7 separate regions of the Homo sapiens genome follow, and regions 1, 2, 4, 5, 6 and 7 are each linked to region 3. Evidence: promoter capture Hi-C in 16 types of primary human blood cells and fetal thymus (Javierre and others, 2016). All regions are on one chromosome and are shown on one strand. The core of a region is centred on a gene start or on the middle of the fragment in contact, and the rest is flanking DNA. Distances in the headings are between cores, read along the strand shown.

What was found. The method cuts DNA at HindIII sites, captures the fragments that hold promoters and counts their contacts. A CHiCAGO score of 5 or more calls a contact.
Region 1: a fragment that was not itself captured here is called in contact with the fragment with the promoter of UXS1 in region 3 in 4 of 17 cell types (naive CD8 T cells, neutrophils, total CD4 T cells and 1 more); the score reaches 7.7 in naive CD8 T cells.
Region 2: a contact is called between a fragment that was not itself captured here and the fragment with the promoter of UXS1 in region 3, in 1 of 17 cell types (monocytes). The highest score is 5.3, in monocytes.
Region 4: a fragment that was not itself captured here is called in contact with the fragment with the promoter of UXS1 in region 3 in 4 of 17 cell types (monocytes, M2 macrophages, M1 macrophages and 1 more); the score reaches 12.6 in monocytes.
Region 5: a fragment that was not itself captured here is called in contact with the fragment with the promoter of UXS1 in region 3 in 10 of 17 cell types (neutrophils, naive CD8 T cells, naive CD4 T cells and 7 more); the score reaches 11.6 in neutrophils.
Region 6: a fragment that was not itself captured here is called in contact with the fragment with the promoter of UXS1 in region 3 in 4 of 17 cell types (total CD4 T cells, naive CD4 T cells, naive CD8 T cells and 1 more); the score reaches 7.0 in total CD4 T cells.
Region 7: a contact is called between a fragment that was not itself captured here and the fragment with the promoter of UXS1 in region 3, in 1 of 17 cell types (neutrophils). The highest score is 6.7, in neutrophils.

What each region holds. Positions count from the first base shown.
Region 1 is chr2:105,812,442-105,815,259 of GRCh38, forward strand. The region is part of intron 1 of NCK2 (NCK adaptor protein 2); the gene reads left to right. Among named protein-coding and RNA genes, the nearest start is that of NCK2, 69 kb to the left of the region's middle. RefSeq lists enhancers at 1-60, 61-561. The HindIII fragment of the contact is 5,530 bases long and covers 1-2,818 here.
Region 2 is chr2:106,588,775-106,591,670 of GRCh38, forward strand. No RefSeq gene overlaps it. Among named protein-coding and RNA genes, the nearest start is that of CD8B2, 100 kb to the left of the region's middle. RefSeq lists a silencer at 1,189-1,409. The HindIII fragment of the contact is 1,528 bases long and covers 855-2,382 here.
Region 3 is chr2:106,193,050-106,195,749 of GRCh38, forward strand. UXS1 (UDP-glucuronate decarboxylase 1) reads right to left here and starts at 1,252. Exons shown (of 15, transcript NM_001253875.2): 1 at 1,099-1,252. The coding sequence starts at 1,192. RefSeq lists an enhancer at 345-394 and a silencer at 725-1,334. The HindIII fragment of the contact is 11,333 bases long and covers 1-2,140 here.
Region 4 is chr2:106,553,745-106,556,444 of GRCh38, forward strand. No RefSeq gene overlaps it. Among named protein-coding and RNA genes, the nearest start is that of CD8B2, 68 kb to the left of the region's middle. The HindIII fragment of the contact is 2,674 bases long and covers 1-2,619 here.
Region 5 is chr2:105,759,172-105,762,006 of GRCh38, forward strand. The region is part of intron 1 of NCK2 (NCK adaptor protein 2); the gene reads left to right. Among named protein-coding and RNA genes, the nearest start is that of NCK2, 16 kb to the left of the region's middle. RefSeq lists an enhancer at 1,881-1,960. The HindIII fragment of the contact is 3,292 bases long and covers 1-2,835 here.
Region 6 is chr2:105,789,584-105,792,283 of GRCh38, forward strand. The region is part of intron 1 of NCK2 (NCK adaptor protein 2); the gene reads left to right. Among named protein-coding and RNA genes, the nearest start is that of NCK2, 46 kb to the left of the region's middle. RefSeq lists enhancers at 441-490, 731-780, 861-910. The HindIII fragment of the contact is 5,853 bases long and covers 1-2,700 here.
Region 7 is chr2:105,843,147-105,846,023 of GRCh38, forward strand. The region is part of intron 2 of NCK2 (NCK adaptor protein 2); the gene reads left to right. Among named protein-coding and RNA genes, the nearest start is that of NCK2, 100 kb to the left of the region's middle. The HindIII fragment of the contact is 6,296 bases long and covers 1-2,877 here.

The sequences.
Region 1 (2,818 bases), core at 284-2,783, 380 kb before region 3:
AGGAATGAAATATAGCTAGCTCTGCCAGAATTCCCTCAGACAGCGCTGACCCCGTGCTGTGTTGGGCTGGCACTGCCGCCTCCGTACTCTGAACGGGAGATCCACTTGCAGGCCTCTGCTGGGCCTCCTTGGTCAGGGAGGGAGGAGGGAAGGGTAAGACAAGGCATTTGAGAGCTCTGAGGCCTATGCTAATCCATGCTTTTTTGTTTTTCTTTTTAAATAAAAGGAAAAGGACAATTGCCTTAGCTCTGGCTACAGACTAGGGATCTGGAGTGGTTCTCTCCATGTGTAACACAGATTAGATTTGGTTATGATACACACCCGAGTCCAACATCTGCTCATTACTGAAGCCAGGTGACACTATTCAACAAGGCTTTTTTTTTTTTTTCCCTCCTGTGCTAACATCTAAGAGAAGCAGTAACGTTGAAAACAAACTTGGTGTGTGTACATTCATGGGCTTGCTTCTTGATGTAGCCTGACATGGTTCCTAGCTGATTTGAGAGGTTGGAGCCGGCCACCCAGGGTGGCAGATACCCCAGACAGATGGCATCAGCAGATGCGATTTGCAGAATGCGACTGTCAAGGTTCTAGCCCTTTCGTGGTGATCTTTGTCAGGAGAAGGAGCACTCTGGCTTTAAAATCAGACAAGTGTGCATTCAAATTCTGGTTGTGAGACATCTGGTCATTTGGTTCCTGGGCTGAATGATAAGATGTATCTCCCAGGGTTGCTGTGACGATTCTTGCAGCTGATGCTAAGGTGAAGCCACGGCGAGTGTCTCACTGGAATCAGAACATGTTCTTCTCCCAGCCTGTCACCGTTTCTATCATTTGGACAGTGGGAGAGGAGGGATTCCCTGAGCCTCCTGAAGGCTGACTTTAGTCTCTTGGTGACTTCAGTTTTCTGGACAAATAGGCCACCTCAAAAACAGGTTGAGTGACAGCACCCAGTGGTATTATGTCCACAAAGCTCACAGCCTTGGGCTGTCATCAGAACAAGGCTCATAACTCCCTTCTTAACCCTGAACTGCTCCTCTGGAGTTGCCTTAGTCAGGGACCTCATCACTGGACTTCCCTCTCAGATGCTGATAGTTGGAGGAAACCAGCCCAGGTGCAGCAGAAGACACTGCGCCAGCACCACACAGGCATTGGGGATGCAGAATCGGCCACGACTGCTTGCAGGGGGGCATCTCACTGCCTGGCCCTGCGCCTGGGACAAGTAGTGTGGCCTGGCAGTGCTCAGCACACTCGCCCAACACTGCAGCTAAGTGCTGCTGAAAACACTGGAAAACCCTGGGTTGTGGCTTTAGTGGAAAAAAAGCAAATTTTAAGGTTACAGAGAATTCAGATAATCCCTTGGATTTTGCAGTGGTAAAATTTTGTAGTATTAAGGATCCACATTAAAATGAAGAGATACGTACGGTATCAGTGTTAATTGCCTTCCAGCCCTCCCTCCTTTATTTCTAAAGGGAGATGCACGTAGTGCTAGTGAAGTACTTTTAGAGAAAAGCACACACTCCTTCTGTATATTCCTGTCCTGAAGCTGGCTGTAGAAAATCCTTGAATCCTTTGGTGAGGGCCTTCTACAGTCCAAGTGACCGTATAGGTGTTTATCTTTCAGGCTGATACTGTTTTTTGCACAAAAGTGTATACTTTCCTGATGGATTTCGATCACTGATTATAATTAAGACCTGCTTTGAAATGCTCTTCCTTAACACAGGTTTTGAATAAGCTAAGAGCCCCATGTTAAACTTGGGCAGTCTTCATTTAAACCCAGAGAGAGAGATGTTGACCACCATGTTTTATTCTACTTAGGGTGTACACTTAACACATTGACAGTTTGTCAGTGGAATGCTTTTCTCAAGGAAAACATCGCATGCAACCTTCACGTTTTACACTTGAATCCCAGATGGCCACTGGCACCTTTCAATGGATTTTCAGTAGCCTCACTTTTGTTGGAGCTGCTGCATTAGTTCAAGTCCTGCTCCGTTCTGTCTGGCTTTTCCTTTACTGATTGTGCTTGGAGAGGCCGTGTTCTGACTTGCCCACTGTGCCTAGTATCAAAGGACTCAAGTTCTAAATCCAGCTCATTGTTCTTTTGCGGGGTCTGGTAGAGAAGCTGCTCAGGCTTTTGGTTTGCTGTTGGCATAAGGAGTCTCTCCTCTGTTCGCATGCAGAAGAGATTAGAGATGTGCAAAGCCCACTCATCCGGAGTCCAAGGCCTAAGTGATTCCTCACTCTCCAGTCGGTTGGGAAAAACCTTTAGTGTCACTGAGAAAGTGAACTCCTCTGTACATTTGGGCATTAGAATCCATCCTGGCAGTGTATCAGAAGGATTAAATCATATTACTCATGAGACACAGGGCACACAGGGGGGAGGCCTGTATTTGGACAGCCCAAACAACTGCATAAAACAATTCCTTGCATTTGCCTGTGGAAGGCAGACTCTGGGCAAATTCACTTCCCAGTTAAAATCTTAACAACACAACTTAACGTTTATAATAGCCCCTGAAAATGACACATACAGAGGTGGTGTTTGGGGCATGGTACCCAGCACATTGCCCTTTGCTGATGTTCAGTGGTGTCAGCATGAGAAACAAGAACTCTTGGTCAAGAACTGAGTTCAGATTCCAATACTTCCATCTCGAGAGGACCTGTCATTTTATTATAAACACTTAACAGAGAGAAGGGCAATCTGCCTAGTATACGTTTGAACTTCTTGCCCAAAGATGTATTCCCACTGTGTTTGGCCATCACCTTTTCCTTGCCTTAAATTATATCTGTATTAAAATGATGCGGCCTTTAAAACAGTGCTAGAGAA
Region 2 (2,896 bases), core at 369-2,868, 400 kb after region 3:
TTTTTTTGAGGTTCACCTGGGCTGGCATTATTAGTACCATATTGAATCTATAGTGAATACACAAAAATCTTTTTAAAGCCACTTTTCCATCTCGTGAAGTTATTTTGTTTAAAATGAATCAGCAATCCAATCAACAATTGGCTCTGATATAAGCCCTTTCTTTATAGTGGCTGGATAATATTTTTAAAATATTGTTTGAAAGTCTGATTTCTTTTTCTACCTCCCTATTAGTCTTGAATATTACTACCGTTTACAAAACAGCTAGGTCGGTCTGGGATTCATTGCTTCTAGGAAGGAATGTTTTGATATTATTGTGTAAACATCTATATTAAAAAAAACCGTGAGAATTAATTCAGTATTATGACTAATAATAAAATTCACTAAGCTGGCTGAATACCAACATGTATGTACATGTACAAGTACATATGTGTACAGCACCATTCCCCTATGTCGGCAAAACCAGCTGGGAAATCGAGTTCATTCAACATGTATGTATTGAGTGTGGATTTTCCTCTAGGCCCCTTTAGCCTTGAGACTATAGCCTTGAACAAAGCAGATGAACCCCTGTTTTCACTGGCATTTATATTCCAGTAAAGATTGACAGAGAATTAACAAATAAGTAAAATATGCTAAGCGAGATGTGTTATGGCCCCTGGAAGATGCAGAAGTGAGGAAGAAGGAAGAAGATTGTGGGCGTGGGGCTGCAATTTTAAATAAGGGATCATGGAAGGCCTCATGGAGAAGATGTAAATTGGTAAAAACCCGGAGGTGGGGAAGGAGAGAGCCATACAGGTTTCTGGGGGGACAGCATGCCAGGCAGAGGGTAAAGCAAGTGCAAAAGCCTTGAGATAGAAAGCTTCCCATTCTGGAAGGAGCAGGAGGTCAGTGGGGCTGGTCAGAGTGTGTGCATAGGAGATGTGTTGTAGGAAATGGGTCAGAGAAATAGGTGGAAGCCAGGTCTCACAGGATTTCAGAGACTGTTGGTGAGACACACGGAGGCTTCAAAGAGGAGTGGCATCATCTGGCTTTTTTTTTTTTTTCCACGATGATAGCACACTGCAGCCTCTAACTCCTGGGCTCAAGTCATCCTCCTGCTTCAGCCTCCTGAGTAGGCGAGACAACAGTGTACCATCAATGCCCAGCTGATCTGGCTAAATTTTTAACAGGACATATCTGCCTGCAGAGCAGAGACTAGGCAAAAGATGGAAGAGCAGAAGTGACTTTGGAAGAGCTGATATTTTTTAATAATAAAATGATGTCATTCTTGGGCACCGTGTCCCTCAGAATCCTGAGGCTTATGGGCAGTCAGGGGAACTAGCATATCCTCAGCTATGTGCCTCACTTGTCAAATCTTTGCCTGCTCCTGCAATCTCACAAAGTCTTGCATCCTCTGAACCTTGTTAGTGCCCATTCCTCTGTTGTCTTTATGTCTTCTTCCCTAGGACTTGTCCTTAAAGCATCTTGCTTATGTATCTGCCTCCAACTTGGAGATCCTTTTGCCCTGATGCTTGTGGAACCACATTCCATTTGAGAAGAGGGCTTTTCTTTGTATTTGCCTAACCATGAATTCTATTTGGCTGTATATGGACACAGCTGTCTTTCTCCTCAATGTGAGTTTAGGTTCAGAGGACTAAGATGTGATGTCCAGTCAAAAACTGGGTTATGTAGTGGTGTACCTAGTTACAGATCAGAAGGTATCTTTGAATACAGGTTTTATGCTCCTAAATTTCTTTACCCTAAAAGGAGGCAGGGCCCTTGTGAGTGGATTAATGCCATTATTCCTGGAGTGGGTTCCTGATAAAGGGATGAGGTTTGGCCCTCTTCTTTCTCTTTCTCATCCTCACACCTCTGCCACCGGGTGATGCAGCACATGCTCTTGTCAGATGCCAGCACATGCTCTTGGACTTCCCAGACTCCACAAACATGAGTTTCTGTTCATTCTAAATTACCCAGTCTGTAGTTTTATTCTATAGCGGTCTAAAACAAAGACACCCCTACATATAGAAATACTTTTTGTATCAGGACTGATGTCATTTGAATAAACACACAGGCTACACACTGCACAGCTCTGGAGGGCATCGTTTATACAGGCTGGAATGAGGGTTGATATCTTTGGGATTAAACCCAAGGTGACCTAGATTATCTAAAAATTTGAAGCAAAATCTTTATAAATAAGTTACCTTTACTCTCCATGATGCATTGACATTATCCTATTTTCTCCTGTCCAATCCTGTCCTATCTTAACTATCAGTCCATTTTGCATTGCTATAAAGGAATATATGAAACTGGGTAATTTATAAAGAAAAGAGGTTTATTTGGCTCTGCAGACTGTACAAGAAGCATGGTGCCAGCATCTACTTGGGTTTTGGGGAGGCCTCAGGAAGCTTTTTCTCATGGCAGAAGGTTAAACAGGAACAAGTGTGTCATATGGTGAGAGAGGAAGCAAAAGAAAGAGGAGGTGGTACTGGGCTTCTACAAAAACCAGCTCCCATGTAAACTAATAGAGTGAGAACTCACTCATTACCGTAGGGAGGGCACCAAGCCATTCATGAGGAAGCCGTCCCCATGACAAACACCTTCCACCAGGCTTCACTTCCAACATCGGGGATCAGATCACATTTCAACATGAGATTTGGAGGGGGCAAATATCCAAACCATATCACTAACCTATGCTATCCTATTCCATCTCCTTCCATTTAATAAATGATGGTCAAGCCAGGCATGGTGGGTCATGCCTGTAATCCCAGTACTTTGGGAGGCTGAGGCGGGGAGATCACTTGAGGTCAGCAGTTTGAGACCAGCCTGGCCAACATGGCAAAAACCCATCCTACTAAAAATACAAAAACTAGCCTGGTATGGGGTCGTGTGCCTGTAGTCCCAGCTACTCAGGACGCTG
Region 3 (2,700 bases), core at 2-2,501:
AACCTCCCCTAGCAACCCGGAGTCCTGCTGGGGTTTTCCAGCTCCACCTCCTGAACAGCTGGGCTGTAGCACACAGGCTGGATCTACTCATACTTGCCTTCCTAGAGCTCAACTGAAGTCACTTCAGACAAGTGAAGTACCCACTCACCTCTGGAATCAGATCTTGGTAACGCCAACAGGTTAGCAGGTGATTTCATTTCAGTGTGTGTCTGGGTGGCTAGCATTCAAACGCAGCTCACACTGGGAGCTATTTCTAGTCCAATTTTGCTACTTGGTAACGTATTAATAGCATCAATTAAAACATTCCCAACGAATAGATCTTTAAAAGGACGGTTTCTGACTTCCCTAACAAGCAGAGGGCCGACCACCTGCCTGCGAAGTGCCCCTCCTGCCCTGTCTCCAGGCAGCATGCTGTGAGCGATGACAGAAACTGGACCCGCGCACAGAGAAGCTGCAGGCACGCCCTGCCCGGCCACCCAGCTGCCTGCCTGCTTCGCCCGGCCGCCGAGCCCCGGGGGAAAACCTAGAATGGGGATGCCGGTGCGCCCCGACACCTGGGCACGGCCGCGGGCCGGGGAGCCGCCCACACTTGGCTCCCCAAGAGTTAAACGCTGAGTAATTTTCCTGAGGAGCAAACAGTCGGAGCGGGGGCTCTGCCAATGGCCACAGTATTTTTATCCGACTTAACCGACACCGCGGCGCGACCTCGGCTGTCCCCAAGGGTATCCCCACGCGGCACGCTCCGGAGTCCCCGACCGGGACCCTCGCCGGCTCCCAGCGCGACATGGACGACAGCGCCGCCGCCGAGTCCCCCGCGCCCGGGCAGGAGGCAGAGACCTGGGGCCGCCCGAGGACTGCTAGGGGCCCCTCCGCCCGGGGTCCGCGCCCGGGCCTAAGCGGTAGGGGGTGTGCGCCCAAGTTGGCCCGCTTTGCTGCAAGAGTGGAAAGGGGTGGGAGCAGAAAGCGCCGGCCCCGCCCGGGGCGGGGAGCAACGCGGGGCTGCAGGGCCGCCTCGGGGCCCCGAACCACCGCCGCCCGGCCCACCGCGGCGCCGGGGAATGAATGGGGCTCCCCAGCTGGCAGCGGGCGCGCACTCACAGGCGACGTAGGCCAGCAAGGCGATGCCCAGCAGCAGCTTCATCCTCCTGCGGTTGACGGCAGACACGAGGCGCAGCAGCGCCTTGCTCACCATCCCCGGGAGCCGCGCGGGTCCAGGGCCCTACCGCGCGGGGGCCCGCCTGCTGCACAATGCGCGGCGGCGGCGGCGGCAGCGGCCCCGAGAGCCCCGCCTCCTGCCGCCGCGCGCCCCCGCCCCCGCGCGCCTGCTTCCTGCTGGCGGGATCACCGCGCAGGCGCGCCTCCACCCCCTTCCTCCGGCTCCGCCCCCGCCCCTCCGGCTTCTCTACCCGCAGGCGCAGTTGCCGCCTTTCTTGCCTTGGTTTTCGAAGAATGTGACCTGGAGGGCTGGTGGGCGGTGCGGCGCGCCGCGGCGCATGCGCGTTCCGGTCTGTTTTCCCTGAGTTAAAGCGCGCGGGTGCCAGCCGGGAGGTGCGGCTGGATTCGTTTCGCTGAGGTGCGTCCCCAACCCAAGGGCACGACTGCAGTGGCCAGTTTCCGAGCCCCGCCCGGAGGGGGGCACGCGGTGGGCATTCCGGTGTTGCAGTGAAACGAAACTTATTTGCTAAACTTGGCCGAGCCTTAGAAGTTGAATGCCTGCCTCAGAAAGTTGCCTCGTTCTCTGGGCTGTTTAGTTGGCTTTTTTTAGTTAGAATATCGGCAGCGAAAATGATAAATCCCCTAAACCTTGCCGAAGTAAAAACTGGCTGCGTTTTTTTTCCTTGGCTATGATCAACTGGGGTGCCTTTGTTTTAATAATAGTCTTTTATTATTATTTTAAAAAGCAGTGCTAAGTATATTAATTTAGGATAGACTTGGAAAAGAAAAGATGAAATTGCGCTGTCTCTGCCTAGAGAAAAACCCTGACCATGTTGTCGTGTGTGTTTCATTCAATCTTTTTGTTGAGTATATCTGTTTTATGAGTGCTGTACTGATTGCATAGGAGGTACCTGTGTTTAAAAAGCATTTACTGAATGATGATTACAAGCAAGGAGATGTATCAGAAGATCCACAGATAATCGGAAGCTTGTCATTGGATCTGGAGAGAGCTGGTCCCATGGAGGAAAAAAAGACAGGTACACACAGATGTGTGTGATGCCACATTAAGAGAGATCCCGGATTTGGGATCTGCAGGCTTCAAGAGGTCATCTTCAGCTATACGGAGAAGTTGAAGTCAGCAGCGGCTCTCCTACCTCTTGGAACCTCAGGCCATTTTGCAAAACTTAATAGATCACCCTCCTTTAGATTTATTAGAAACCTCCAAGAAAAGGAAATATGGCAGCTGGTACTAAAGCAGCAGCTTTATGTTACATCTTTCAAACTATAGTGCAAATGATGTGATTCTGATAAAACCTACCTCCATCCTACCCCTCCCCTAAACCTGTTGAGAATCCCTGACTAGGAGGAAACACTGAGCGGTTTGCTAAGGCGGATTGCCCCTGCTATGCATGCTGCCCATAGATGGAGTGGACTTCTTTCGAGAAGCCCAGCTCCCTGACTCTGACGTGTCCAAGGAGGCTGCCAAGTGACAAAACACCTGGCATGGGAGCCTGAGTCCTGGGTTCCCAGAGGGGCCAGGCCCCC
Region 4 (2,700 bases), core at 33-2,532, 360 kb after region 3:
CCCATTATCAATTCAGTATACCCTTAAGGCAAATTTGTCCAACCCGTGACCGTTTGGCCCAGGATGGCTTTGAATGCAGCCCAACACAAACTCGTAATTTTTCTTAAAGCATTACGAGAGTTTTTTGCGACATTTTTAAGCTCATCAGCTATCATTAGTGTTAGTGTATTTTACGTGCGGCCCAAGACAATTCTTCTTCTTCCAGTGTGGCCAAAGGAAGCCAAAAGATTGGATACCCCTGCTTTAAGGTAAGAATTTGGGTTGCCAGTTGGTTGGTACGATTATTCAACTGGCATCCATAATGGTTTCTGGAACACAGAAGATGCACAATGTATTAGCTCCATTCTTCCTTCCCTTGCTTTCTTGCCCTCTGAGGCCAGAAATCCCAAGAGGTAGTGGCAGTCACACCTGGACCAGAGCTCTGAAGAGATGGGTTCTCACCTGAGCTCTGGCTCTCACTGCAGGAATGATCTTATGCAAGGTGTCTTTCCCCCATTCTTTTGTGCAATTGGGATCTGCATAAGTCAGTGGTTCTCAAAGGGGGCAATTTTGTCCTTCTGGGGAAAATGGCTGGAGATATTTTCAGTGTTCACAACTGTATGCGGGGAGAGTGTCCTACTGACATTTAATGAGCAGAGACCAGGGAAATTGCTGAACATCCTACAGGGCACAAGACAGCCCTACAACGGAGGGCTCTCCAGCCCCCAGTGTCAATAGTGCTGAGGAACCCTGGTGTGACAGTAAACGATCACCACTGGAATCATTTACAGTCATGCACTGACTAATGACGTGGATACATTCTCAGAAATGCAATTTTGTCATTCTGTGGACATCACAGAGTGAACTTACAAAGACCTAGATGGTATTGTCTACTACACACCTCAGCTGTACAGGCTGTACTCTGTCCTATTGCTCCGAGGCACAAACGTTTACAGCATGTGACCGTACTGAGTACTATAGGCAATTATAACACAATGGTAAGAATTTGTGTATTTAAACCTAACTAAGCCTAGAAAAGGTACAGTAAAAATATGACATTATAATCTTATTTGACCATGGTCCTATATGCAGTTCATTGTTACGTGGCACATTACTATACTACAAAGGGAAGGTGTGGATTCCTACTATGTAGCAGGTGCTGTACTAGATATTTAAATCTTACTTGATTTGATTTTCACAAAACTCTGCAAGTGTGGATATTAGTGTTCCCATTTTATAGATGAGGCACCTGAAGCTCAGAGAGACTAAGCAGTAGTCATATCACTAGCATGAGTTGCAGTCGAACTTGGAGCTGTTTTCATTAATTTGATGATAAAGACTTTGAAGCATGCATGTGTTTGGTGGTGCTTATAGAATCATAGACCTCCAGAACCAGAAGGTATCTTGAAAGTAGTTGGTTAGTCAGATGTCCTCGTTTTACAGATGGAGAAACTGAAGCAAAGAGGTTTACTCTATAACAGAGCAAGAGCCAGAGTCTGGCCTGGAGCCCATGGCTCAGCTAGGAGAGGGACCAAGCCTTCTAACCAGTGCTCTCTGGGGTGTGTCTGCCTGTAAGAAGACATGGAGTGGGAACACTTGTTTCTCCTAGCAGGCCTGAATTGCCTCTTTATTGCTAGCCAGGCAAATTCCCACTGTAACAGGCCATGGCTGGGTTTCTGGAGGTGGTGGACAGGTTTTCACTTTGGAGCCCTCTAAACAGGTAGTCTTGGCTTTGCAGGTGTTCTTGGACAAGGCTCACACATGCTGCAGGAGAGTGCCTCTGCTGGTTCAGATGCTGTCCCTTAGGACACATCCTTGGCTCTTCCCTACCTCTATCCTTTCGCCTGCTTTCTCACTCCCCACCTTGCATCCCTCTCTATGCCCTCCAACTCTGACTTGCAAAATAGACCAAGGAGACAGGTTAGGAAGAACTTCTGGGAGCAACACGGAAAAAAGTACGTTTTTGGAATCTGGGTCACTATCGTAATCTGCTGCAGATAATGAGCAGTGAATGTGTGTTTGATGAGATGGGACTTCTTCCCCTTAGGTCTGAAGGAACTCATTTGGAGAACAGGCATGCAGATGCCCTGAGAGCTCGGTGCCACACGATGGACACACAAATGGAGATATGGCTTCCACATGCTGTGTTCCCACACCTCTCATATTTCAGACGCAGTGCTTTGCCCTTCATCCATTAACTCGCATTCTTTTTCTCTTCTGTCTCCCTCCATTTGGGATGATCAAAATTTTATTTCTGGATGAGCTCCTTTTTGCCCACTCTAAGAGTTAAATACCTTTGCTGACACTGAATTTGGAAACACAGACTTAGGGAAATTTTTCAGAAAGACTGCTTTAAGAGTAATTTTTTTTCCCAACAGACAACACAGAAGTAGAATTTTATTTACTTGCTTTTGCTATTATTAGCCATTTATATCATATCATAACTTATGAATAAGACATTAAGATGAGCATTGTAAACGAATGCTACCAATTGCATAAGAGAGAATCCATTCATTTTTGCTAGCTTGTATTGTTTTCTGTGTTTCCACCATACAATTAGATGTAAAATAGAAATACAATTCTATTGCATTAAAGAGTAATACTTGTTTATATGTTACTATGTGATAGGCATATAATTAAAGCTTAAAAAATTTTTGCTGAATTAAATTGAATGTAATAAGGAACATTTGAAAAACACAGAAAAATAAAATTTTTAAAAAT
Region 5 (2,835 bases), core at 95-2,594, 430 kb before region 3:
GAGAATTTCACGTGTTAAGTCCTTATTTGGTCTTATTCAAGGGAGCAAGATTTTTTGTTTGTTTATAAACACATGCAGTATATCGTTTTACGTATTCAAGTACACATAGTACGTTCTCTGGGGAAAGCAGAAAATTGTATTGCATTTCAGCCATGTAATACCCTCACGTTCGTGTATTAAGCTGATCAATAGGGGTATTTATTTCCTTTTGTTGAGCACAGTGTTTTAACGTTTCCAAAGTGTAATTTGTTATTGTTGAAAGTCAACCATGTTACCCTATGCATACAGGCTTTTATATAATAAAACATATGGTATATATTTTTAAGTAAGCGCTTAATTTTAGAATAGATTTTAAATTTACAGAAAAAGTTTCAAAGATAATACAGAGAATTCTGATATAAACTGTGTCTACTTTCCCCTGTGATTCACATCTTACGTTACTATAGTACATTGGTTACATCTAATGAACCAGTATTGGTACATTATTGTTAAGTCCATAGTTTATTTGCCCTGACATCCTTTTTCTGTCCCAGGATCCCATCCAGGGCACGTTTCCTTTAGTCTCCGTAGCGCCTCTGATCTGGGACAGTTTCTTAGACTCGCCTTGTTTTTAATGGCTTGACAGCTTTGAGGAGCAAAACTGCTTTTCAGGTGTTTTGTAGACTGTCCCTCAGTTGAGAGTTGTCAGATGTTTTTTCATGATTAGTGTAGAGTTACCGGTTTGGGGAGGAAGGCCACCGAGGTAATGTGCCATTTTGTATCAAGGGTCCATGTGATCAGCGTGGCTTATGATGGTTGATGTTGATCTTGATCACCTGGCCCAGGTAGTGTTTGTCAGGGGACTCCACTGTCAAGTGACTCCACTGTCAAGTGACTCTTTTCCCTTCTTTCCATACTGCTGCAGTCTTTGGAAGGAGGTCATTTAAGGAAGAGGGAGTTCAGCTGTACCTCCTGTAGGGGTTGTATTTACATTAGTTATTTAGAATTCTATCTGACAGATTTATCTATTCTCCCAAAAGGGACCAAGATTTTCAGTGGGGATAGAAGGCACTGTGGCACAGACAGCCCCTTGGCACTGTTGCGGAGGAGGTGATAGGATAGGATGGTGCCCCAGCATGGGGTTTCCAGAATGTGGTCCTGGGCTGTGGAGAAATGCAAATTCCGGGGAACTGCCTGACTTCCCGCGTGGGATAGGTTGGTCTGGAATTCTTCCTGTTGCACGAGTTCCCCAGGTGATTCTGATGCATATTCAAAGTTGAGAGCCTCTGCTGTGGATTAGCACTTGAACCCCAGGTGTGCCGGCCAGGAGTCAGGCCCTCACCTCCATCCTTGCCGTTCACACCTCTTCCCTGCTGGTGGCACCTAGCTCTAAGGCTCCCCGTGTAACCACTTCTCCCACAGTTTTGACCACCTCTTGGATCTCTCCATCTGAGGCTCCCTTTGTATCAACCAAGGGTCTTTGCTTTCTGGATAACTTCATCCTTCTTTTGGTGGGCCCAGAGTTCCAGTGAAGGGAGAAACCAGTTACAGCTGAGAACCCTATTGTGGAAAGGCCAGTCAGGGCCAGAGTAGGGAGGTCCCTAGATGCCAGGCTTCTCTGAAAATGGTTTTGTCACATGTGAGAGAGAGAGAGAGGCAGAGACACCGAGACCCCACGTGGACTGTGTTCAGGTTTGAGCAAATAAAAAATCACCGAAAAATCTTCATAGTTTCTACATGTGTCATGCCTTGCGCTTTGGGACACCCCTAGCTCTTGGGCACATTCCCTGGTTGAAGTGGGAGGGCAGTGGCCTGAAGAAGTTTCTTTGGGATTGGGATCTGGGTGGCCCTCATCCTGCTTCCGCCTGAGGAAGCCCTGGTCTGTGACTGGGCTCAGGAAGTGGTCCCGACCCAGTGTCTGAGGAAGGCATTCTCCTCTCATAGATGGGGGCCAGAGTCTGCTGTGAGGCCATGCTGGTGTGCCTGCCCGCCCACCCTACTGGGCCTCTTCTGGGCAGCAGGGTTGTGCCCTACCCGGGTGCTGGGAGGTTTGGGTGTGTATGGGAGCGGTGGTATGGACGGGGCAGGCGTTGGCTCAGAAGCTGGCGTGGGGAGGGTCTTGAAGTGGTCATTTTAACTCCTGGCTGACTGACTTCCAGAGAATCTTTTTTTGGGAGGGAGAAGAGTGGCTCACCTTTCTCTTGGGTACAGAAAAAGTCAGAATTAAGGCCATTAGCCTGTTTCTCTTTCTGGTCACTGCCTTCTCCCTCCTAGTGATGGGACGATTCCAGGCTTGGGTGGAAGGCCAGGTGGGGGGACACTACTTCCTGCTCCACCCTTCCCAAACCATTATACACAGATGAGAGAGACTCTGTTGTATTCATTCACATAGATATAATTTATAATAATGCATTTTGTTTATTAAAAAATGACTGGGCCAGGCAGAGTGGCTCATAGTGGCTCATGCCTGTAATCCCAGCACTTTGGGAGGCTCAGGTGGGAGGATTGCTTGAGCCCAGGAGTTCAAGACCAGCCTGGGCAACATGGCGAAACCCTGTCTCTACAAGAAATACAAAAAAATGAGCTGGGTATGGTGGCAAGTGCCTGTAGTCCCAGCTACTTAGGAGACTGAGGCAGGAGGATCACTTGAGCCTGGGAGGTCCAGGCTGCAGTGAGCCGTGATCAGGCCCCTGTACTCCAGCCTATATGACAGTGAGACCAAAAAAGACTGAATACAGACATGTGCGCTGACCCTTTTGAACATTATTTTCTTTTCAATCTCTGCCTCTGTGTTACAGTTTATGTTTTCTCTTTTGTCCTGCGGATTTTTGATACATTTTAAAAATATCTTGTCCT
Region 6 (2,700 bases), core at 182-2,681, 400 kb before region 3:
GATGAAAATGATCCTCTTGCTACATAAAATCCTTATAGGAGCAATAAAACCTGCCTTCGGAACCAGCTGTAAAGCACTTATTGTCCATCATCATCTGCTGGTGAGGACCTTGCTCCCCGGCTTGTGATTCTCAAACCCCAACTTAGGCTTGCTCCCGGTTAACGGGAGGGCTTTTTCTGACACAGACTGCTGCCCCACACACCCCCAGTTTCTGCCTCAGTGGTCTGGGGTGGGCCCCAGTAATTTGCATTTTTAAAAAGTCCCCAGGTGATGCTGGTGCTGGCCAGGGCACACCTCACCATCAGATAACGAACAGGTTGGATATGAGTGGTCGCCAACTAAATGTTCACGAATGGATGTTGTGTTTTGCCATCACTGCCTGGAGGGGGCAGGGTAATCAGAGTCCAACACTAGCGTGTTCATGTATTGAGTGCAAGGGAGCAGAATTGGCTTGTCTTCAAAACATCTTAATTTTTATTGCTTCTACTTTGTGGAATGTTACTTCCTATTTGTAGAACGAGAAGAATTAAAAGTTGATTTGTGAGCTAAAAATACGGGCAGCCGTTTCTTCTTCATCAAAGCCCACAAATAGACCTGAACATTTAGACATAAAAGTAAACCGTTAGAAATAGTGTGCATGTCATTAGGATCTGTTGATTGGATTAAAATGACAGACTCGTTTCTTGGCTTCCTGCAGCTCTCGTCATTGCCCACCATCTATTTTTAGCAGATCTTGCCCTGCTGACTCAGAGTGGGAACAGTTGCTGAGCCCTGGGCTTCTCAATGCCATAGGCTGGCAAGTAGCCTGACTTCTAGGATGGGTAGCACTCTATGCCTGGGCAGCAGGAGAGTCTGTGCCTGTGAGGAGACCCCTCTGCAGGCAGCCTGGGAGCCCGGCCACCCCCGCCTGCCCCATTTCTTGTTACCTCACCCACTGAGAGGAGCCACCTCTGGAGCCCTGGTTTCCTAGGCCCTTTGAGAAGTGTGCCAGGTGTTGCTGCCTGGAGTGTCATCACTTGATGTGACATCTTACTGCATCCCCCGCACCTGTCCTCATCTTAGGTGAAGGCATCAGGCCAGGCCCTTAGTGCCTCCTTCCTCTGTTCTGGGCACCCCTAGGGGAGAAGTGTACATGGGTGGAGCTTGTCTTCAGGAGACTGTACCTGTTTCTTTAAGGCTGCTGTCCAGGTGGGTCTCTCGCTGCCAGCTGATGCACATAGGCAAGACTTGGGTGGAGGGAACGGCCTTTGAGCTGTGCCCGAAGAAGGAAGGGTGTGGCAGGTCAGCCCGAGGCAAGGGAGGAGAGTCCTCATCTGCAGGGCTTGGTGAGGAGCCAGCCAGAGTCCAACCCCTCCCCTTTATATCACAGATGCACACTGCTAGGGGAGTGCTCCTCGTGTTAGAACCTGCAAGAGTTGGAAGGCACTGCTTAGAGGTTGTCCGCTCCCACTCAGGAAACTTTGGGGCTCTGGAAATGCCCATGAGCAACACAGCTGAGAGGGTAGGTACTGTATGTGGGAGCCACTTGGAAGCCCCTGCGGCCCTGGGCTCAGCCACTCTGCACCCTCATTTTCTCATTTGTTAAATGAAGAGGTGACAGCGGAAGATCTCTAATCCTTCCTTCCAGGATTTAAATTCTAGTAATTCTTAAGAGAATGTTGATTCATCTAGAGAAACCTGAGGCAGTGATGTAAATTACAGCCACACTGATAAGAAACTGGTCATTTTTTACCTCTCCCACGTAACCTCTGTGCCTTCACGTTTTTCTCTTCACTCCAGAAGAAGAGTGACCAGGTGTGGTGGAAGGCTCGGTGGCTTTCACGATGGGAGGATATACGGTGTAAAGTGCCTAACAACAATGTAGGGAGTGCACCCTCGCCCCGTTGCCGTGCTTACCGGCCAGAGTGCTGCTGCAGATTACTCTTCGCTCACTGTCTTTGGGATGTCCTTATTTGTTCCGTGTATTACAGTGTAGTTTATTGTATGTTTTTAGAGCACTCTTGTGTTCATTTAAACTTCTCTAGAGCAAAGAGCATTTCGAACTGACTCCATAATAGATCTGATCATAGTGACCTCTTGAAGTGCTTGATACAGGGTTTCGTTTTTCTACTTGACAATTCAGGCAAATCAGTGGTATACATTCTTCGTAGAGCTTGTGAGTTTTGTCTATAATTTGATCCATGTAAAAATGACGCAGCTGCTCGTGGTGGTTGTGTTTTGATAGGCCACTCAATATTTTCATATCTGTTGTATATTTAACACCCGAATAACTTACCAAGATTTTATCGAGTGAACTGATTTTTCTTTTTGGGAGGAGCAGAGGTCAAGCTACCAAAAATGTTTTTTCGATGTTTTGAGTGTGTGTTTTTTAAGCATAATCAGAAACAAAAAGAAGAGCCTTAATGGGTTAGCGGTTGATTCTGAAAAGCAAGCTGTTGATTGTGTTGTGGGCTCTGCACAGAGCCGTGGGAACGCTTCCCCAGTCCTGCCTTGGTGACCGGAGAGATGGATGAGATTTTGGAGACCCCTCCTGCTCAGCCTCACCACTGACCCGCTCCATGCCCTAGGCAGGGAGGTGCTTTGCGCACCTTCATATGTAGAAGATGGTTTGCTGCTTGGGGGTTTCTGATGGCCCTTTCAGCTATCACATTTTATGATGATCTTGACATTCTTTGTAAGATGTGATTTCTTAGTTATCAA
Region 7 (2,877 bases), core at 296-2,795, 350 kb before region 3:
ATCTTGGGAATGGGACTCAAGTCTAAATGCTAAATTTATGTTTCATATATACCTTATTTATGTTTCATATATATATAGCCCGAAGGTAATTTCATATAATATTTTTAATAATATGTGTGACCCATCACATGAGGTTGGATGTGGAATTTTTCACTTGTAGTGCTCAAGTTTTGGATTCGGAGCATTTTGGATTTTGGAGTTTTGAATTAGGGATTCTTAGCCTGTATTTCTGTACTGTGGTCCCATAAGAAAAAAAAAAAAAAAACCTAGCCCTCCCCTCTTTATTTTGTAAAGGATTCATGTGTAAAAAGTGGACTACAGGTACTGCTGGTTACAATCAAGGCAGATATACTGATTCTGGGACTGGGGTAGAAAATATGCAAGAAAAGCCCAGAGCATCTTGTGGTGCCAGAAAGTAAGGATGTGCTCAAAGAAACAAACGAACGAACACTCGCAGTGATGGTGATACGTCACAGGGACACAGTAGCCAGCTGAAAACGCTCCCATACACAAAGCTGGAACAATTCAAGAAAAAGCAATATTGGATGGTAGCCCAGAGTATAAAATAGCCGTAAGATCACAGTGATATAAATGATGGAATACGTTAATTAGTAGGGGAAGAGAAATCTCCTGTGCAAAAGGTTTCCAGATAATTCATGTAGATGCTTTGCCCTCAAGGAGATGGAAGAGTTAACTCCCCACCCTTAAGCGTGGGCTGTTCCTGGAGACTTCCTTCCAAAGAGCATAGCATGGAAGGGGGCAAGTGTAACTTCAGTGGAGAATCCTGACAAACACCGCCTCAGCCAGGTGATCAAGGTCAACATCAGCAGTCTGCAGTCCTAAGCCATGTTGACCTTTGATATGGTAAGATGAGAATAGCATGTTGCCTCTGTGGTCTTCCTCCCAAAAGCTAATACTGGAGCACTGATCAGGTATTTTGCAGAAGGTCCCCCACTTAGGATTTGTCTGATGTTTTTCTCATGACATCAGACAAATCCTAACGGGTGGGGGGACATTCTTTAAATACCTGACCAATGCTCTTCAAAAAAAAGGGAAGTCTGAGAACTGCCACAGTCAAGAGGCGCCTAAGCAGACGTGACAACTAAATGTAGTGTGGGATCCTGGGTGGGATCTTGGGACAAGAAAAGGACATTAAGGGAAAGCTAAGGACATCTGAATAAACCATGAACTTTAGTTAATGTATGGGTAGTGGTTCATTAATTGTAACATGCTTATCATACTAATGTAATATGTTAATAATAAAGGAACCTATTTTAGTCTAAAAAATATTTTTGGGCCAGGCATGGTGGCTCACGCCTGTAATCTCAGCACTTTGGGAGGCTGAGGCGGGCGGATTATGAAGTCGAGTTGGAGACCAGCCTGGCCAACATGATGAAACCCCCATCTCTACTAAAAGTAGAAAAAAACAAAAAAAAAAAAAAACAGCTGGGCATGGAGGCTCTTACCTGTAATTGCAGCTACTCGGGAGGGTGAGGCAGAATTGCTCGAACCCAGGAGGAGGAGGTTGCAGTGAGCTGAGATCGCGCCACTGCACTCCAGCCTGAGCAACAGAGTAAGACTCTGTCTTGGGGCGGGGGGGGATATATATATATATATATATATGTATGTATGTATATATGTATATAAAAGAATATATAAATATATATACATAAAAATAGATATATATATTTTGAAATATCAAGCACAGATGCTAGAAACCTTTATTTCCTCATTCTGTTTTCTTAAATGATAGGGATGGTTTCTTTAACAGAATTCTACATTTGGAATAAATATTAGCATTTATTGTTCCAAACTCATTTATAGAGGTGTCTATAGTAATTAAACCCAAAGTAACCCATGTCCCCTCTCCTACACAGGGTCCCTGCTGGCAGGTAGGTACAGGTTCTTGTCCCTAGAGCGGGGTGCAGAGGGGCTTTCTATAATCCACTCTCCCACTTCAATAGGAAAATCTAAAGCATAGATACCATGCTTAGGAATGTGGGCATAAACCATATAAATCTGCAGAACTAAAATGATTTTAGTAGCCTAATAATATTTTAACATTATGAGACCTGGGTAGTGTGGAATCTGTTTTTAAAAATCACTGTGCTTCTTGTTTCAACCTTGCATGTTTCAAAATCAGGCAGGGAATCGTGAGTAACAAGGTGGCAAGGAAAAAGGTCAGATATTGATTAATGTAGCTGAATTCATTTGTAAGAACTGAGGAAACTCATGACATTTATATTTTGAATTTTTTTTTTTTTTTTGAGATGAATCTTACTCTGTCACCCAGGTTGGAGTGCAGTGACTGATCTTTACTCACTGCATCCTCCGCCTCTTGAGCTCAAGTGATTCTCCTGCCTCAGCCTCCTGAGTAGCTGAAATTACAGGCATGTACCAGCATGCCCGGCTAATTTTTTGTATTTTTAGTAGAGGTGAGGTTTCAAATGTTGGCCAGGCTGGTCTCGAACTCCTGACCTCAGATGATCCACCCACCTCAGCCTCCCAAAGTGCCAGGATTACAGATGTGAGCCACCACGCCCAGCCGAGGTTTTTTTGAAGTAGATGTTTAAGTTACAAAATTTACAAGTACCTTACAGCTGTGAAAAAAAAATAGGAAGGCCTGATAAACCGCTAAAAATGGTGACTGTTATCCGTCTACTTTGGGAGCAGGGAGTATGCACTACCTGAAAAGACCTCACTTGTGTTTCCTAAGAAGCCAAGTTCCACCAAAGACATCTATGTCCATTTTCATACGTGGGTATTTTCCCATTGTTGGTATTTCCTCTTCACCCCTTCACCATGCTGTCTTCTGGCTTGGCAGAAGGCAGTGTTGATTCCAGTGCAGTTATATGGAATTTCATTTGTTTACAGTTA